Regions from separate parts of the Homo sapiens genome. Here region 2 is linked to region 1. The links are contacts of gene promoters, found by promoter capture Hi-C in human tissues and cell types (Jung and others, 2019). All regions are on one chromosome and are shown on one strand. The core of a region is centred on a gene start or on the middle of the fragment in contact, and the rest is flanking DNA. Distances in the headings are between cores, read along the strand shown. Region 1 holds the start of ALKBH8 (alkB homolog 8, tRNA methyltransferase). Region 2 has its middle 32 kb from the start of SLN.

Region 1 (4,349 bases), core at 1,472-3,971:
AGGTTCAGGAAGAGCTGCTCAGTATAGGAGGTAATGAGTCATATTTAGGATAGAATAATGTTTAAGGTATTGTGAGATACAGAGTTGCAATGTCTGGCTGGCAAGTGACAAAATAAAGTGGCTCCTAGGAAAGGAACTGAGGTTAAAAAGGTTTAGGAGTCAGTCGTCATTAAGACAGGAAGGGGATAAGTGAATGGACATGTCTAACATTGCATTAATTATAATTATTTGTTTTAGTATCTGTCCCCTTCCACTGAACTGTGAGCTTTCTGAAGGCGGGATTAAATCACACTTTTCTTAGTTACCACAGAGCCTCATTCAGTGCTATGAGGTAATATAATACAGTGTTTAGGAGTCCATGTTCCAGGTTCAAATCTCAGCTCAACCACTGATTATTAGCTGTATAATCCTAGATGAGTTGGTTATATAGCTCTGTGTTCCAGTTTCTTTATCTAGGAATAGGGATAAAAATAATAGTGCCTATCCCATAGCTTTCTTAGAATTAAATTTATTTATTATTATTTATTTATTACTGTTGATTTTCAGAAGCAGCAGATCAAAATGGCTTAACAAAACAAAGAATATCTGAGGCCCTTCAAAGGAGCTATTTTAGAGCCATTCCATTTCAAGATCTTCATCTGTGGAACAGCAACTTTGCAGTATGTCATGGAGAACAAGGGATGACTGCACTACAGAATTTTTAATATTTCACATGAGCAAACACTGCAAAGAAGGAATGAGAAAGAAACGATGCTAAATATATCTTTTTAAAATGTCTGCCACTAAGAGTCCAGCACCAGCAGGTGGAGCCTCATAACCACATTTTTGTCATCCCTTTCCTTTTTCTCTCCCTCAGTCATGCAATATTATTGCACGTGAAGAAAGACACTAAATGGCCTTTGAGGCTCAGTTTTCCACCATTCCAGTGGCTAGGCAATGTGCTGGCCCAACATATCTGAGTCATCTCAACAAGGATAGGCTGATACCAGCTGCTGAGGTCTGGAGGTGCCCCCTTCTGACAAAGCCACTTCCCTGGCCAGAGTTTCCACTAATGCACAGATACTTGGATGCTCCCTGTGACATTACTGGAGTGAAGTCACTATTAACTATGATACTAGCCATGCTGAGTCCGGTTCAGCCAGCTCCAGCCTAAGCGTACTCTCTGTGGGATAATGAAAGTTTGGAGATTATGCATGCTCTGCTACTTGCTTGTTAGTGAGTTTAAAGCCAATATATCCTACTAGATATTGCCCTACGTGGTAATAGTAGTATGTACATCATGCCCTCCTTGAATAATAGAGAGCCTATTATGAAACAAGCAGTATAGACAAATGTTCCTATACTTATATGTTTAAAAAAATGCAAAAACCATGATTACTTTTGCACAACCTAATAATTAATAGCAAAGATTAGAAAGAATCTAACTTCCTATCAAACGAGGCCCAATTTTAACGTACGGCACTGGTATACAGAGTTTACATATAAATCTTTAGGACACACAAGAAATTGGTGATATGGGTTGCCTCCAGGGAAGGAAAATGGATCGATGAGTAAAGGAATGAAAGGGAGCTTTCTTCTTTCATGACTTTTGAAGTTAGTAGCTATTTAAACTGCATCATCTATTTAAAAAGAAAATAAAGATTTAAAATTTTTAGAAAAAAATTCACCCCATCACTTGTCACGGCACCCCGTTTTAACTCTTTGAATAACACTTACTACATATTTTCTTACACTCTCATTAATTTGTTTATTCTGTCTTTCCCCATAACTGAATAAAGAACACTCACTCCATGAAGTAGAGATTTTGTCTCTATTGTTCACCCTGTAGCACCCAGCACTTAAACAGGATTTAGCACCTAGCAGCCACTCAATAACCATTTGTCGAATAAACCTAAATCGACTTTGCTGTCTTACCTCCTAAACCTCCCCTCCTCCAGAATTCTGAGTTTGGTGGCCTTCTTCAACGTTTTCATTAACACCTAGCATGGACCTCTATCTCTAGAGTTCTCACATGGTATTATAATTGCCTGTTTGTGTTGGGCTTCGGCCAGAAAACTGTCATCTATTTAAGGGCACAGACTTGGTGCCTGACATACAACTGACAATAAATATTCAATGAAATCTATCAAAATAACAGGCTGACGCTACCAGAGGTCCAGGAGTCGCAGGGATTGCTCAAATAAGAGCACAGGAAGACTCAGCTGCGCAAGGGATCAGATCATCAGCACTGCCTTTGCATCGATGCAATCAGACCGATTGTCACCGGTCAGAAAAGCCCCAGAAGCGCCACACTAACACGCCCCATGTTGCAACCGTCCTCTCCAACCCCAAAGAAAACAGAAGATTGACACAGGCACCACGTGAGCGCCCGAACCAAACACAAACACATGCACCCTAAACACTGAGAGAACCACCCAACGCAGACACCCTACTGCCCACACTGCACCAAGGGCGCCTCTGGGATCCATCCCCTTTCCCTAGGTTCTCAGCCCTAGCTGGCAAGGCGGATAGAGAAGACCGGAAGAGGCTGAAAAGAGGAAGCGGTGATTTGCTGCCCGTATGCCCGCCAGTAAGAAGTGCCACACACCTCCGCTTCGGCTCAGGCCGGATTCTCACCATGCGTGTGCCTTCTTCTTTGCCAGCCTCTCCACTCTAGCACCAGAACACCGCAGCGGATACTTGCACGCCATCTCCCCTGGGCGCGGCCATGTTGGAGAAAACTGCACTACATTTCCCATGAGCCCGCGGGACAACGAACAGCGCTCCCACAGTCCTCTTCGCCTCCCAGAGCCCGGGAGTGACCCTTTTTCGACCAAGTGTCTTTGTAAAGTGCTGTCTGTTACACTGAAAATTCAGTTGTCTTTTTGGGGGGAGTAGTAATAATTGGTAGTGCAGCTATATTTTTATCTGTTGCTCTCCAAATGGACAAGGTCAAACAGGTTTGGGCCCTTTGGTCTTTCAGCAATGTCCCCTGGCACCTTCTATTCTTCGTGCATATTTCCTCCTGAATCTTATTAGAGGTGAGAAAGGAAAATAAATCTTGGTGCCACAAAATCACTAAGCTAAAGGGAAAAGTCAAGCTAGGAACTGCTTGGGCAAACCTGCCTCCCATTCTATTCAAAGTCATCCCTCTGAGTCATCCCTCTGCTCACTGAGATAAATGCATATCTGATTGCCTCCTTTGGAAAGGCTCATCAGAAACTCAAAAGAATGCAACCATTTGTCTCTCAGCTGTAATACGTGCGACCTGGAAGCCCCCTCCTCACTTTGAGTTGGCCCGCCTCTGCTTCAATTTGTCCCTCCTTTCTGGACGGAACCAATGTTCATCTTACATATATTGATTGATGCCTCATGTCTCCCTAAAATGTATAAAACCAAGCTGTGCCCCGACCACCCTGGACACATATCATCAGGACCTCCTGAGGCTGTGTCACGGGCGGGCGTCCTTAACTTTGGCAAAATAAATTTCCTAAATTGTCTGAGACCTGTCTCAGATATTCAGGGTTCACAGAGATATGGGAGAGGATCCTGGGGTCTGAAAGATGGCATTGCATGGGCGGGAGGGAAGGAAGTGAATATGCATGAATGTGCCAGGGGAATGGTGAGTACCACAGAGTAATAGAAAGATGTGTGGAAGAATGGTGAAGGAAGCAAGACAGAATTCTGTAGGCCTGCAGAGTGGGAGTTGCAGGGAGGAAGGTTAGAGAAATGAAATGATATGACCAGAGCTTCTTGTGGCAAGTGGGAGGAGAGACTAGAAGATGACTGATGAAGTGAAAAGTAACGAAATATTAACAAGCCCAGTAGTGGCAGAGGGAAAGAAAAAAGAGCTGGTAACAGATCATAAGTAAAAGACAAAGGAGAGGGTGATGATTAGCAGTTGTTCCTGCTCTGTTATTTGTTATATAAATGTACCATAATCCTTCTACCTGCATTGGTTTATGAGCTATGTGAGTGCAGGGAGGGAAAGGTGTAGGGGAAGAGGAATCACCTTCCCATGTTGTTGATACAATGGCCCCTATCTGCAGTGCACCACAGTGGACTAACAATAAAATAGCTGGCTGACCAGGAAAAGTGGCAGTGAAAAAAGAGTGCTGTTGAGTGGCGGAATGATTTGTGTGGAGAATAGGTTACAAACATGAAAGAACAGAAGAGGCAGATAGGCAAGCATTGCAATAGTCTAGGAAAGAAAGGGTGAGACCAAAACTTAATAGTAAAAATGAGGAGGCAAGTGCAAGCTGGAGAGGTCAAATCCACCAGACATTGCAAGCTACATGAGTATAAGAGGACACACAGGAAATCTCCCCATTGCAATTCTGCTTCTGCACTACTGGATGCTTTCAAAAACA
Region 2 (4,574 bases), core at 1,404-3,903, 180 kb after region 1:
GCTCTCAGGCTGTGAGGAAAGCACTCTGCCTGGGCAGTGGAGGCCGTGCTGTGTACCTGCTCTTGTAGGAGTGGCCAGGCAGGGGCCTTGGGAGGGGCTGGTGGATAGAGGAGCATGCAGAACAGACATGCCCCAGTCCCACAGGAAAGATGGCCCCACTCTCTCCTGGCCCAGCAGCCAGCCAAGGTTAGAGCTACTCAGAGGAAGACAGAGAATCCTGTGGGATGGGTGCCTGTGGCCACATTTTGCTGCAGCTTCTCCATGTGCAAAACCTTCTAGGCTCTGCACAGCCTGGAGCACTGTTTCTGCCTACTCTCCAGGCAGATTCCCTTGACAATTCAAACATCTGTAGGAGTCATGGGACCTCTTGTAGCTAATATCTGAGAGGTCTGTGGTGAGAGTGGGTTACCCCGCCATCACTTCACTCACCCCTTCCTTAGGAGCTGTTCAGGGCCGGGAACCAGTCCCAGTGCTCTGCAAACCTGTGCAGGGTTCCCAGCTTCCTCCCTCTTCAGTCTCAGTGTCTGCCTTACCTCTCTATTACTCTGTGTTTTCTCTCCAAAGATCTGTCCTAAGGATGTTGGTTTATTCAATATTTTGGTCTCTCTCATTGGGAGATGCTCCTTGACTGTATCTATTGGCCATCTTGTCACCTCCATCCACTTTTTTTTTTTAAGCTGGAGTTTCACTCTTGTCGCCCAGGCTGGAGTGCAGTGGCACAATCTCCAGTCACCACAACCTCCGCCTCCTGGGTTCAAGCGATTCTTCAGCCTCAGCCTCCCAAGTAGCTGAGATTACAGGTGCCTGCCACCACACCTGGCTAATTTTTGTATTTTTAGTACACACAGGGTTTCACCGTGTTGGCCAGGCTGGTCTCAAACTCCTGACCTCAGGTGATCCACCTGCCTTGGCCTCCCAAAATGCTGGGATTACAGGCATGAGCCACGGTGCCCAACCCATCCAATATTTTTAAATGATAAAATATATTCTCAATTCCCCTTCTATCCTCTTTCTCTCTTTAAAGTTATAAATCTTATGTTCGTCCCTGCAGCCACTCACCTGGAGAAGAAGGCTTGTTTAAAATGCCAAATTGGCCAGTAGCAGTGGCTCACGCCTGTAATTCCAGCACTTTGGGAGGCTGAGGTGGGTGGATCACTTGAAGCCAGGAGTTTGAGACCAGCCTGGCCAACATGGTGAAACCCCATCTCTACTAAAAATACAAAAATTAGCCAGGCATGGTGGCAGGTGCCTGTAATCCCAGCTACTAGAAAGGCTGAGGCATGAGAATTGCTTGATCTTGGGAGGTGGAGGTTACAGTGAGCCAAGATCATGCCACTGCACTACAGCCTCTGCAACAGAGTGAAACCCTGTCTCAAAAATAAAATAAAATGCCAAGTTGACTTAGATAAGTAAGCAGAACACAGGAAAGAAGTTCATTTCCATTCTATCATTCCATAGGAATCAGCCAAAAACTTGCTGAAAGTGGAAATTCAGTTTTGCCATAAAAGGACCCCTTTAATGATTTATCTTTCACCTCTATGTAACTCTGTATTTCTTTCTACTGATTTCTCCATAAAAGCTCTGCATAATGGTGTGGGTTGATTTATGAGACTCCCTTCAGCCTTTATTCCATTTTTACTTTTTCTTACTTTGTTATTTCCCCTGGTGGATGCCAGTGTTAGTATTTGACCCATACAAGGGGTGTTCAGCCAAAGACAGTCCTCAGTCAGACTGTGGCCTGAGACAGATGGTGAGGCCAGTTGGTGCTTTGGGGCAGTCAGATTACATTTCCAAGGCGTTCTCGTGTGACAGCTGTGTGCCTTTGATCAAAACATTGAGAAACAAACCCTCACGTCTCCCTTAGCACAAAAACAGCCAGGACCCTGTTTTCCTGGATCAAAGAGAGGCATGTCAGATACTCTATAGGACTTCATATGCATTAAATACCACATTCTCAGAAGAGCTGCAGAGGCCCAGGATGACAGGGGTCACTACAGAAAGAGGACCTCTGCAGGAGGTGAGGAGGGGCTCCACCAGGGCGGACTCTCTTTGTATCTGTTGTACCCTCAGCACCTACAACAGTACCTGGAGCAATGTAGAAGCTCAATAAATATTTTTTGAATTAATTATTAAATAAGTGAGCTGCTTCTATCTGGCAAGTCCCTTACTTTACTCAGATTGACACATCATTCCTGCTCATTTTTGAAAATCCAGCTCATCTCTTTCTCAGAGTGCTTTCTTTGACCTGTCTAAACACTTCTCTATATATAAAGCTGTACTTTCAAATGGATTTCTGTTGCTTGTTCTTATAATACAGTATTGCAGTTACTTGATTGCATGTCCCTCCTCCCTTCAAGACCTTTAATTCCTTCATAGCTAAGGACAATTCTTATTCATCTCTGTACTCATGCTGCCTAGCATAGTTCCTGTATATTTACTCCTTCATCCAACGGGATTTGAGCACCCTGCTTTATTCCCAGCACTGAAACAGGCTCTGGGGATACAGCAGCGAACAAGAAATGAGCCCTCTCTATTCCCCAAGCTTAAATTTTATAAGGATTGCAGACAATTAATACGAGTAAGTGCAATGGTGGAGGTTATGAGGACACCATGGAAGCACATAGGAAGGACACCACTGCATAAAATTTGATGATCATTAAAAGCCTCCTAGAGGATGCTTCCCAGGAAAAAAACAAAGAATATCTGAAGGATAAATAGAATTGAGCCAGTAAAGTGGGGGAGTGTTCCAAGAATAGAAGAAAGGAAGACAGAAGGGAGAAACAGATGAAAGGAAAGCAGGGAAGAATGGGAGAAGTGAAGAAGAGAGGAAGGCAGGGATATTGCATTTTCTTATTTGCCTTGTAATATTTCTTCCAGTAGGTGGCCTTACCAAGAGCCCCATAACTGCTAGAGGCCACCTGCTACCCCATCTTACTTGGAGGTTCTGTTTTTACCCCTAGTCACAGAATCACAGGCTATTGTAGAGCTGAAAGGGGCTGTTAATACCTAGTCCCATCCCTCTTATTCTACACATATGAACGATGAAGCCCACAGAGGTTAGTAATAACAGTATTTTGCTTTTATCTGTTATCTTGCAAAGCATTTTTACCCCTATCCAGCGTGCATCCAACAGCCCTGTGAAGCAGCGTTATTCTTTTCTACATATCAGGAAACTGGGGTTTAAATGGAATTAGTGGTAGAGCTGGAAGCCAGGTCTCTACCAAGGGCACACCATGAGGAGCGGAGCCAGCAGGAGATGACTCCTCATCCAAACTCCTTCCAGAAGGCAAGAAGAGCTCTCTGACACCTGATGGGGACTGGCCATGCTAATTATTCACAGCATGTCCCAATTAAAAGAACACTTGTGCTGAATGCCTTATTTGCCAATAGCCTGGAGATCACTAGAATGACTGGAGTTGACTGGTCTTGCCTTCATTTGGTGTCAGATGGTAGGTCAGTCTTTTTACAAATAAAAAGAGTGTTCATTTTGGACTATTTAAAAATGTGAAATGTCTGTAAAAGCAGGACTCTATAAACCAAGTTAAGAGATAAGCCATACAATAACAAATGTTGGCAAGGATGAGGAGAAAAGGGAATTCTCATACACTCTTGGTGGGAATGTAAAATGAGCACAACCACTATGAAAAACAGTTTGGAGGTTCCTCAAAAAACTAAAAATAGAGCTACCATATAATCCAGCAATCCCACTCCTAGGTTTATACCCAAAAGACAGGAAATCAGTATATCAGAGAGATATCTGCACTCCCATATTTATTGCAGCACTGTTCACAGTAGCCAAGATTTCGAAGCAACCTAAGTGTCCATCAACAGATGAGTAGATAAAGAAAATGTGGTACTATATATAATGGAGTACTATTCAGCTACAAAAAAGGATGAGATCCTGTCATATCCAACAACTGAGATGGAACTGGAGGTCATTATGTTAAGTGAAGTAAGTCAGGCACAGAATGATAAACATCACCTCTTCTCACTTATCTGTGGGAGCTAAAAATTAAAACAATTGAATTCATGGAAATAGAGAGTAGAAAGATGGTTACCACAGCCTGGGAAGGGTAGTGGTGAAGTGGGAGTGGGTATGGGGGTGGGGAATGGTTAACGGCTACAAAAAAAAGTAGTTAGAATAAATTAGAGGCTGGGTGCAGTGGCTCACGCCTGTAATCCCAGCACTTTGGGAGGCCAAGGCAGGTGGATCACTTGAGGTCAGGAGTTTGAGACTAGCCTGGCCAACATGGTGAAACACCGTCTATACTAAAAATATAAAAATTAGCTGGGAGTGGTGGTGCACACCTGTAATCCCAGCTACTCGGGAGACTGAAGCAAGAGAATCGCTTGAACCCAAGAGGCAGAGGTTGCAGTGAGTCAAGATTGTACCACTGCACCCCAGCCTGGGTGACAGAGTGAGATCCTTCTAAAAAAAAAAAAAAAGAAAAGAAAAGAAAAATAGATAAGACCTAGTATTTGCTAGTACAACGGGATGACTATAGTAAAAATATATATAGATATATGAATTTTTAAAATAACTAAAAGAGTATGTCAGAATGTTTGAAACACAA

Evidence for each region. Contacts are between HindIII fragments. The study calls those that stand out against the background at their distance.
Region 2: a fragment that was not itself captured here is called in contact with the fragment with the promoter of ALKBH8 in region 1 in 1 of the 25 tissues and cell types used here (spleen).

Annotation. Positions count from the first base shown.
Region 1 is chr11:107,563,014-107,567,362 of GRCh38, forward strand. ALKBH8 (alkB homolog 8, tRNA methyltransferase) reads right to left here and starts at 2,722. Exons shown (of 12, transcript NM_138775.3): 1 at 2,588-2,722. RefSeq lists enhancers at 2,073-2,591, 2,395-2,884, 2,592-3,108, 2,955-3,014. The HindIII fragment of the contact is 10,640 bases long and covers 1-4,349 here.
Region 2 is chr11:107,741,617-107,746,190 of GRCh38, forward strand. No RefSeq gene overlaps it. Among named protein-coding and RNA genes, the nearest start is that of SLN, 32 kb to the left of the region's middle. RefSeq lists enhancers at 1-10, 11-511. The HindIII fragment of the contact is 4,332 bases long and covers 488-4,574 here.